Linked DNA regions of Homo sapiens: all the other regions are linked to region 2. The links are contacts of gene promoters, found by promoter capture Hi-C in blood cells and fetal thymus (Javierre and others, 2016). All regions are on one chromosome and are shown on one strand. The core of a region is centred on a gene start or on the middle of the fragment in contact, and the rest is flanking DNA. Distances in the headings are between cores, read along the strand shown. Region 1 holds the start of TGIF2 (TGFB induced factor homeobox 2). Region 2 holds the start of AAR2 (AAR2 splicing factor). Region 3 holds the start of SLA2 (Src like adaptor 2).

Region 1 (3,102 bases), core at 177-2,676, 340 kb after region 2:
CCTAAGGCAACCCAGACGTGGCTTTTTCTTTCACAGGGCCGTGGGGGGAGCACCACTTCCCCGGCCAAAAAAATTGTTTCTGACCCACACTCTGGGCCTTATTTTCCCTGTCTGTGAAATGGAGAGCAACAGGCAGTGCCACTGACATTTCACCCGCTGCCGTGAGGAGGTTTTTAACATTTGCAGGAAGTCTGGCTTCTATGGGGTGTCCAGGTGAAACCTTAACAATCTTTAATCAGCATTCTGATTGGCTTAAGGCTTGTTTGGAAAAAATTAAGAGTTTTGTTCCTAGAGTTCTCCATTGCTAAAGGGTAATTAAGTCCAAAAGCTGTTTTCAAAGCGATTTCCAAGCTCAAGGGCCCTAGATATCTGGACCTAGCCGTGTCCGGGTACAGGGCTGGGGGGCGTGGGGGGATGCCCTAAGAGGCTGGTTAACAGAAATATCACAGTATGTGGTACCCACAGCAGAGAGCAGGGAAGAATGTACTGACTGGGGTGGGGGAGGCCAAGGAAAACCTTCTGGAGTAGGGTGTAACTGGCAGAAGAGGAAAAAGAAACCAGACAGGAACTCCGGGAGCTCCTGGACTGATCGTTTAAGGCCGGGCACAAGGGGTAAGGGATCAGGCTTCACTATCGACCGACCTGGGCTGAATGATACCGGTTGACTGTGTGACAAAAGCAAATCAAGAACCTCTCTGCGGCTCATGAGTAAGCCAGAGACTTACATAGGACAACACATACCCTATCACCCGAGGATGAGACGGGATGACACACACGAAGTGCCCCGCACAGCGTCGTTGTAAAGCGTTGGCTGTTTTCACCTCTGGCCGCCCCCTGTGAGCCCGATCATGTGCTTTTTGGGCTTAGGTCGGAGGCGGCCTCCCAGATTCTACAGGCCATTGAGGTCGTAACAAGCGTCTCCATCAGAGCCTAGTCCTTAACTAGCTGCGGGTAAGTGCCCGGACTAAGTGGCCTCAGTTTCCCCTCGAAGCAACGGGACCAATCGCACCGCCGGCAGGACATCTTGTGCGGGGCGCGAAGTGACAAAAGTCAGGATTTGCAGAAGTTCCCACTCGGTAACGACCCCCACCCCGGCAAGGAGCACAGTAGGCGCTCCGGAAACGCCCTCCACGAGGAGGGCCGGGCCACTTCCTGCCCCCGAGCGGGCTCTCCCCGGCGGAGGCTCCCACCGCCGCTATGGGTAGGCCATGCAGCATTCCTGAGGGCGGGGTGGGCGCAGGAAGAAGGTGCCCGCGGCCCCGCCCCCTCCGGGCGCGCTGGGCGGGGCGAAGCCCCTCGGCGCCGACGGCCCGCCCCGCGGGGGGTGGGCGCAGCTCGTCGCGCTCCGCACAAAGTTTGTTTTCTCCCTCCGGGCGGGTGGGGGAGGGCGCAGAGGGCGCGGGGGGAGGAGAGGGGATCTGACGTCAGGCCGCGAGGTGCTTTCCAGCCGCGAGCTGTCAGGCCGAGTGTCAGGCCGGGCAGGTACGCGGCGCGCGCCCCCGGCGCCCCCCGCTCCCCGCCGGGACGCCCCGCGCCGAGCCGGAGGCCGCGTGGACCCGAAAGCCGCTGGGAAAAGTCAGTGCAGGGAGCAGCAGAGGGCCAGATGGGGGTGGGGGCGCGCGGACAACTTGGAAAGTTTCTTTTTCTCGGCCGGACGGGGAGGGGGCGTCGTCCTGGCGCGTGCGGTAGGGGGTGTGTGAGCTCGGGGGTGTTTGTGAGTCCCGACGGCCCCCGGGGGGTGTTTGTGAGTCCCGACGGCGCTGCGCTCCGGGGGCCGGTGGGGGACTGTTCCAGCCCCCGGGAGGAAGCCCGCTTGGGGCCCTGGTGGGGGGCCCAGCTTCATAGGATCCCACCCCAGGAGAGGGCCGATCCTGCACCGGACCTGAGTGAGCGCGCGGGGGGACGGATTTGTTTGGTTTCAAAAGTGCACGTTGCTAACCGCCAGCAGGGCCCCCCCGCCGCCGAGCCGGACAGGGGGCGGCCGAGAGTGACAGCTGGGGGTGGGGGCCGCGGGAAGGGCCCGGAGCGGGGGGGCCCTGGGGAGCCCGCGCGAGTTCCCCTTTCCTTTGGAACAAAGGAAAGTCTGTCTCCGAGGCATCTGTCACTCCCAGGCTGGCCAAGGAAGCGGGGCGCGTGGGGCCGGCGCCCCGGAGAAAGTTTGTTCGCGCCGGGACCCTCGGGCAGGCCGAAGGTGATCCAAGCCTCCCGCGGGAGAAGCGCGTAGTCTCCGGGGCAGGGGGCGGCCAACATGGAGTCTGGGCGCAGGGCTGGGGGGGGGGGGGCGGCGCGGAGGTGGGAGCCCAGCCCCCTCCCCTCCCTTCCCCTCCCCTCCCCCTCCGGGCCCAGTTCGGAGCACAAAGCCGAGCGCGCACGCTCCGCCGTCCCCGCGCCCCGAAGAGTCGGCCAGCCCCGAACTGCCGGAGTAGGGGTGGGAACCAAACTTTTTCCTGCCCCGGGACAGACACGTGAGTTTTCTTTCTTCCAGAGCCCCCGTCCCACCGGGATGGCGGGCCCGCGCGGGAGCTGGTGCGCGGAGTCGGCCCGGGGTGTGGGGACTGTGGGGTGCAAGCGCCCCGAGCGCCGGACGATTCCTCGCCGACCCAGGAGCCATGTGCTCCGACTCGGTCTGGGCCGCGGGGGAGGTTGCGCGCTTTGTCTGAACTGCTGGGAATGCGGGCGTGAGTGCGCGGCCCGGGGGAGTGTCGGGACCAGCTAGGGGAGTTGTCAGAAAGTTCGTGCGGGAGTGGCTGCAGGTGGCGTCGTGGGAGTCTGTAGGAGGGTGTACGGGATGTTGTGTCGAGGGGTTGCTGCCACAGGTCACTGAGGGTAGAACTGATTGTTAGTGTGATGACGCCTGGAGTTTTCCCTGTCGGAGAGATCGGGGGTGGCCGGGTCGGTTGGAGTTCGTGGGTGGGCGGGTACAGAAGTTGGGCTAGTTGTGTGGGTCACAGTTGTTCGTGCTAGGCCTGGGGTCTGTAAGCTGTGCGTGTGCGTGCTGTATGCGTCGGTGAAAACCCTAGGGTTTGTAAGGCTTGAGCGATGGGTCCGGGCCAGTTATCCTAGCGCTGTTGGTTAATTGCCTGGCGTGAGTGTGTCTGGGTG
Region 2 (3,422 bases), core at 266-2,765:
GAGTGGGGAGGGGTGGAGAGGGAGCTGAGCTTCTTCATGCAGGAGATGAAACTTGACAGGACAGGCTGAGATTGGTAAGCATGACTGTGACTGATGGAGGCTGTCTCTGGTTAATCCTGCAGCAGCTCATTGTGATTAACCATGACTGCAGGGCCCGGTCTAGTCTGCAACCCACTAAGAGATAAATTTTGACCGAGACAGATTGGCGTGTCCAGCTGTCACTGAGGAAATGTGACAGACAAGCTAAGGAGCAGCAGCACAAGAGATAAGAACAGACAGCCCTTGGTTTGCATTCTAGCTCTGCCATTCTCTGGCTGTGTAACATCTCTTTGAACCTCAGTTTTCTCTTCTGCAAATTGGGAATACACATACCTTACAAGGGTTAGTGCAAGGATTATAAATACCCAAGTGGGCCGGGCACGGTGGCTCATGCCTGTAATCCCAGCACTTTGAGAGGCCAAGGTGGGCAGATCACCTGAGGTCAGGAGTTCGAAACCAGCCTGGCCAACAAGATGAAACCCCGTCTCTACTAAAAATACAAAAATTAGCCAGGCACGGTGGTGGGCGCCTGTAATCCCAGCTACTTGGGAGGCTGAGGCAGGAGAATGGCTTGAACCCAGGAGGTGGAGGTTGCAGTGAGCCGAGATAGCGCCATTGCACTCCAGCCTGGGTGACAGAGTGAGATTGCGTCTCAAAAAAAGAAATACCCAAGTGGCCTGCCCTAAAATCACATAAGCCAATTCTTGGCAATAAATCACTTAATATAGATCTCCTACTGGCTCTGTATCTTTGGTGGAACCCTGATTAATAGTGCAGGGTTAGACCCACAAATAGTTATTTATTAATACCAAATTATCATCATTATTAATTAAATGCATAATATATGTACTCAGCTGAGCTTTTGTGCCTGGCTTTGTGCTCGGTTCCAGGGAAACAGTGAGGAACAAGACAGGCAGATTCCTTCCCTAGTGCGTTGATAGCCTGACTGAGATGTTAGGACTTGGCCTGCAGGAAGGACACGGGGTGATAATGGCCAGAGGGACTGAGGTGGCGACCGCTGCTGCTGCAGCAGCGGAGGCTGACGCTGGTTCTCTCTGGGCTGGTGGCTGGGTTTCTGAGGCTCTCCCCGAGGGCTGAGTGTGACTGGAAGCTGAGACACTGTGACCGGGATAGAGACTGGCTGACAAAGACAGTGACCGAGCGCCTGACTGGCTACTTCTGAATAGTAGCCACTGGTACAAGCCTTGGCTGTGCTTTAGTGACCATGACTGCTTGAGCCCAAAGTAAGATGGCTGGTGGCTGTGTTTCTGGACGGGGATATAAAATGCATAGGTTAATGAAAGTTGTTCACAATTCAGAAGCTAAAACGAGAAACTAAGAATAACAAAAGGCAACCTTGCATCCGGCGGAACCTGCAGGCACGGGCCATTCTTCCCGCGACCCAGGGCTCTGCCGGACCGCTTCCCCCGTCGCTCCAGTCAGACGCCAAAGCTGGAGAACTTCCGGTGCGTTTCCGCTGTACCGGAACGTGGGGCGAGGCGGTGAGTGTGGCCTCCTGGCCTCTTTTTCCTTTCCTGATTCCTTGTGTATGTGTGGCTGGGCCGCCCCTCTTCTCGGCTCAGAGTCACGGAGTGCCTTGAACTAGGCCCACCTCGCCGGGGCGGCTGGTTCTCTGTTTGTGGGACGCTGGTGTCTCTGGAGGCCCTTCCTGAGAAGCCGTCGCCAGAGTTACGTCGCGGTTTTCTTAACTTTAGAGCCTGGGGGCCGGAGACCCTGATTGCACTCGACCTGGCTCTGCCCTACTCTCTGCGTGACTTCCAGTAAGGTCTTTCCCCGAACTGAGGCTTTGTTTCTCGTTTACAAAATGGATATCATACTTGTATTAAATAAATGTTTACTAAGCGTTGAATCTGTGCTAGGGATACAGCAGGACTCAAGTCTCGTGGCGATGACAGCCTTCAATCAAACATCCAAAACTGCAGTTGTGATCATTGAGACGGAAAGGTACAAGGCACCCCAGATTATATCACAGGAGACCTGACCTAGCCCCAGGGCAAGGAACCTTTACTGAGGAGGTGAATATTGAGCTGAGATCAGAAAAAAGGATTTGACAAAGTGGGGAGGGAAGAGTTTTCTATATGGAGACAGCCTCCAATTTCAGGTTCTGAAAGAGGCCGTTGTGGCTGGAACAGAGAGCTTGTGGGGGACCATTGTGTGACACAAGCTAAAGGGGTTGCCAGGAGTCAGACCGTGCAGGCTTTGTAGGTAATAGGAAGAATTCTGGTTTTTCAAGAACCATATGGGAAACCACTCAGAAGCTGACATGGGTGGTGTTGTGATTAGATTGGCATTTTGAAAAGGTTACTGCTGTTGAATGGAGAATGGGTTGAGGAGCAAGCACTCTGAGTGAGGGACGATGGTAGCTTGGATTAGGGAGGTGGTGGAGAGAAGTGGATGGATGTGACTTTAGGTGTTCCAGGACTGTGAGGAACTCACAGAGCTGTCAGTGACAGGGGCTGGTAGACTGCAGAGTTCTATGCATATTTAATAAACGTTTTCCTAGCATCTCCTCTGTGCTAGGCCCTGTGCCAGCTGCTGGAGATATAGTGAATAGAATTACAGACTGGTGGAATTAGCATGAAAGAAACGTCATTATCAAGGAGGAGCACACAGATGTCACAAGGGAAAATGGCTAATTGATGAGCTGTTATTGTAAATGGAATATCTGTTCATTCAGCAAATATTAAATACTTTCTGAATTCAGGATTACAAATAGGAAGATGATACGTATTATTATTATTATTATTATTATTATTATTATTATTATTATTATTATTTTGAGACGGAATTCGCTCAGACCCCCAGGCTGGAGTGCAGTGGTGTGATCTCAGCTCACTGCAACCTCTGCCTCCCAGGTTCAAGCAATTCTTCTGCCTCAGCTTCTCAAGTAGCTGGGACTACTGGCGCACACCACCATGCGCGGCTAATTTTTTTTGTATTTTTAGTAGAGATGGGGTTTCACAGTATTGGCCAGGCTGGTCTCAAACTCCTGACCTCATTATCCATCCGCCTCGGCCTCCCAAAGTGCTGTGATTACAGGCGTGAGCCACCACGCCCGGCCTGTTGATACGAATTATTTAGAGCAGAGTCTTTCAAACTTTTATGACTGTGACCTACAGTAACGAATACATTTTATGGCACAACCAAGTATACACACAAACACACAAAGCTCCAGAAAACAGTACTTAGCTTTACTACTCATGATGTATTGTGATATTTCAAAAATTCTGTTATTTTCGTTTAAAAAATAATGCTGGTTGAGACCTTCACATTGATTTCCTAATCCACTAATGGATTGTGACTTGCAGTTTGGTGAAACACAAAGTGCTGATTCAGGGTAAGAGTCATTTGTGGTGGTTTTG
Region 3 (3,385 bases), core at 37-2,536, 410 kb after region 2:
CATTTCAGATACAGTGACCAAGTCCCTGAGAGGACAACCATGTGATTCTGTTCATGTAGCCCATTCGTGCAGGACTGGGCCTGCCATCATGTGTATTTTGTGCTTCTGAAGATCATTTTTCAGCAGTGGGGGTAAGAGTGATGAATTTGGCCAGGCACAGTGGCTCATGCCTGTAATCCCAGCAATTTAGGAGGCTGAGACAGGAGGATTGCTTGAGGCCAGGAGTTCGAGACCAGCCTGGGCAACATAGTGAGAACCCCCACCCCCACCCCCACCACCGCCTGCCATCTCTACAAAAATATAACGAATTAGCTGGGCATGGTGGTACATGCCTGTAGTCTCAGCTACTTGGGAGGCTAAGGCAGGAGGATCACTTGAGCCCAGTGGTTCAAGTCTATAGTTAGTCATAATTACGCCGCTGCACTCCAGCCTGGGTAACAGAATGAGACCCCAACTCAAAAAAAAAAATGAATTTGGATTGAGTTAAAGGGAGACCTCTCCCTCTCTTCCAATTGAGAAATATCACCCCTTTGAGAGTGAGAGTGCACTGTAGGCTCTACAGCTGAAATGTCTTGAGAGATGGTAGCCCTCACGTTCCTGACTTTGGAGTCTGACTGCAGCGCAGAGAGGGGCCCAAAGTCACACAGCAAGTGCGCACCTGAGATGGGACTAGGACGGGCGTGAAGACAAGCTGCACGGAAGAGCGTAAGCTCCAAGAGGAGGTCAAAGGTGGAGCAGGTGAGTCTTGGTTCTTCTGGGACCCCCAGAAACCACCCCTCTTTACAGCCTCAGTAGAACCACTCCCCCTTCTCCTTGAGCTTGTTTTTTTCCCAACAGCAAATAAAGCCCAGTCCCAGTCGGGGCAGGGGAGACCATTCTTCCTCACCTGTCTCCAGGCCATCCAAGAACAAAAGCAAGCATACTTACTGGTTTGTCATCAAAGGCTTGGGAAGACAGCTCTGCTGAGACGCATGCTCTGGCTGGACAGGTTAGGGCTTTGGGGGCCCTTCTGGAAGTCTGCCAGTGTCCTTGGTCCTAGGACACCCAGAACTCTCTCAGCCTGGGAGGATCTTCAGGGAGAGGCTAGGTGTTGGTTTGGGTAGCTCAGCATCTGTCTGCAGTCAGCAGTTTGTACACCAGGGATGGATCAGCTGCCCCATGCTCCTTAGGGATTCTGGACTGGGGAACCCTCCCAAGCACAGCCGAGCCAGGGAGGGAAGGCCCAGGGCCCTTTGAGCTCTGTCACAGAGACACAGGCGTGGGGTCCTTGGAGCTCTAGCTCCGACTGCAGACTCTGTGGTTCTCACAACCACCCGTTTCCTCTGACGGCATCACAGACCGTCGAGGAGCCACCTTCCCCAAGTTCCTGTTTCTAGGGGAGCAGCTGCTGCCTTGTCATGATCGTGGAGCAAAAGGTTTTTCTCTGGCTTTGTGGCTTAGTCTTGTCCAAGGAACACAGGACTGAGGAAAATGAGCCGGAGTTCCCATGCTGGCCTGACCATAATAATCACTCAGCGGGACTTAATTGTAGCAATTTCTGGGATCTCCCAAACTTTCTAAATCCAAGTCTCCAGATAGGGAGCCCAGGAATCTAAATTTTAAACCCTGCAGGAGATTCCCTTGACTGACGAGTGTGGGAAGCACTGCCTTCTCAGCCTTTAATGTGTATAGGAATCACCTGGGGATCTTGTTGCACTGCAGGCTCTGATTCAGAAGGTCTGGGGCAGAGTTCAGTATTTTGCATTTCTAATACGCTCCCAGGTGACCCCCATGTTGCCAGTCTGGGGACCACACTTTGAATAGCAGCAGTATCTGGACAGTGGTCTCCAAGTATGGTCCCTAGACCAGCAGCCTCAGCGGGAATTTGTTAGACATGCAAATTCTCAGGCCGCATCCCAGATCTATGGAATCATACTCTGGAGGTAGGCCCAGCAATCTGTTTTCATGCCTCCAGGTGATTCCGATGCATGCCCAGGCTTGATTTTTTTTTTTTTTTTTTTTTTTTTTTTTTTACAGGGTCTTGCTTTGTCACCCAGGATAGAGTGCAGTGGCACAATCATAGCTTAGTGCAGCCTTGACCCAGGCTCAAGTAATCCTCCCTTCTCAGCCTTGAGTAGCTAGGACTACAGGTGTGCACCAGCACTCCTGGCTAATTTTAAATTTTTTTTGTACAGATGAGGTTTCACTGTGCTGCTCCATCTAATCTCAAACTCCTGGCCTCAATTGTTCCTCCCACTTCCACCTCCCTAAGTGTTGGGATTACAAGCATGAGCCACAGTCCATGCCCAAGCTTGAGAATCACTGGTCTAGGATAAAGAATCTGACTCTGGCTGAATTGTCTTTGATCAGTGTGTTACCTTCAGTCCCACTCTTCATTAAGATTTAACCACACCCTCTCGCTGCTTCCCCATTAGGGGGATTAGTACTCTTGGAGACAAAGGGCCCACTGCACTGAAATGATTCCTGACTCCAGCTCAGCCCATGCAGCCCTTTCTGGGGCCTTGCCAGCTACAGCACTCCTGCTCAGGTTCTCCTTTGATCCTAGGGAAGGCTGGTTTGATTTTTATCCTTGTAGGCACTTGGCACACAGAGCTGAAGGAGCCAGAGTGGAGGCACACTTCTGCAAGAGAGTTCTAATCAGGACGTTAGAATGGGTGACAGCCACTCAGGGATGTGGGCCTTGGCAGGGAGGGACTTGAGCTTGAGCCCACCTTCCCACTCCTGCTGCCATACAACTGTAATGCCCGTCTTCTTATGATACGCACATCTTCAAAACAAGCCTCAAGGTGCAGTTCATGAATGGGGCAGGAAGTAGGGAATCTCTGGTCTCTTCTTAAAAGAATCCCACGGCATAACTCTCCTTTTCTACTTAGGGAGGCACCTAAGAATTACAAAATTTAAAATCCTAGGTCTATCCACTAAGAAATATGCACTGGTGTTCCTCCCTGGCTCCTGGCCAGAGCTGCTAAAACCCTTCTAATTTCCTCGGTGACAGAAGTGTTTTCTGTTCTAATGAGGCAACACTTGGTGGGCTCCTGGATGGGGACTGGTCACTAGAAAGACAAAGCCATCATTATGAGCTTGGGGCTTTCAGTCCCACCTCATCCTCTGGAGTGGGGAGAGGAGCTCGAGATTGAGTTAATAATTGATAATGCTTATGTGATGAAGCTTCCATAAAAATCCCTAAAGTACGAGGTTCAGAGAGTTTCCAGGTTGGTGAACACATCCAACACACCAGAAGGGTGGCACACCCCAACTCCCTGGGACCCCTCCAGACCTTGCTCTATGTATTATTATTATTATTTTTAGACAGATTCTTGCTCTGTTGTCCAGACTGGAGTGGAGTGGCACAATTTAGGCTCACCGCATCCTCTGCCTCCCGGGT

What was found. The method cuts DNA at HindIII sites, captures the fragments that hold promoters and counts their contacts. A CHiCAGO score of 5 or more calls a contact.
Region 1: the fragment with the promoter of TGIF2 here is called in contact with the fragment with the promoter of AAR2 in region 2 in 11 of 17 cell types (erythroblasts, total B cells, megakaryocytes and 8 more); the score reaches 14.1 in erythroblasts.
Region 3: the fragment with the promoter of SLA2 here is called in contact with the fragment with the promoter of AAR2 in region 2 in 2 of 17 cell types (erythroblasts and total B cells); the score reaches 5.5 in erythroblasts.

What each region holds. Positions count from the first base shown.
Region 1 is chr20:36,572,171-36,575,272 of GRCh38, forward strand. TGIF2 (TGFB induced factor homeobox 2) reads left to right here and starts at 1,427. Exons shown (of 3, transcript NM_021809.7): 1 at 1,427-1,575. TGIF2-RAB5IF (TGIF2-RAB5IF readthrough) reads left to right here and starts at 2,345. Exons shown (of 5, transcript NM_001199535.2): 1 at 2,345-2,465. It overlaps DLGAP4-AS1 (DLGAP4 antisense RNA 1), which reads right to left and starts at 1,105. Exons shown (of 5, transcript NR_109939.1): 1 at 742-1,105. RefSeq lists an enhancer at 544-603 and silencers at 1,104-1,423, 1,454-1,543, 1,614-1,783. The HindIII fragment of the contact is 13,842 bases long and covers 1-3,102 here.
Region 2 is chr20:36,234,963-36,238,384 of GRCh38, forward strand. AAR2 (AAR2 splicing factor) reads left to right here and starts at 1,516. Exons shown (of 4, transcript NM_001271874.2): 1 at 1,516-1,541. It overlaps LOC105372602 (a long non-coding RNA gene), which reads right to left and starts at 1,504. Exons shown (of 3, transcript XR_936695.2): 1 at 1,396-1,504. The HindIII fragment of the contact is 9,166 bases long and covers 1-3,422 here.
Region 3 is chr20:36,644,910-36,648,294 of GRCh38, forward strand. SLA2 (Src like adaptor 2) reads right to left here and starts at 1,287. Exons shown (of 8, transcript NM_032214.4): 1 at 928-1,287. The HindIII fragment of the contact is 2,848 bases long and covers 1-2,288 here.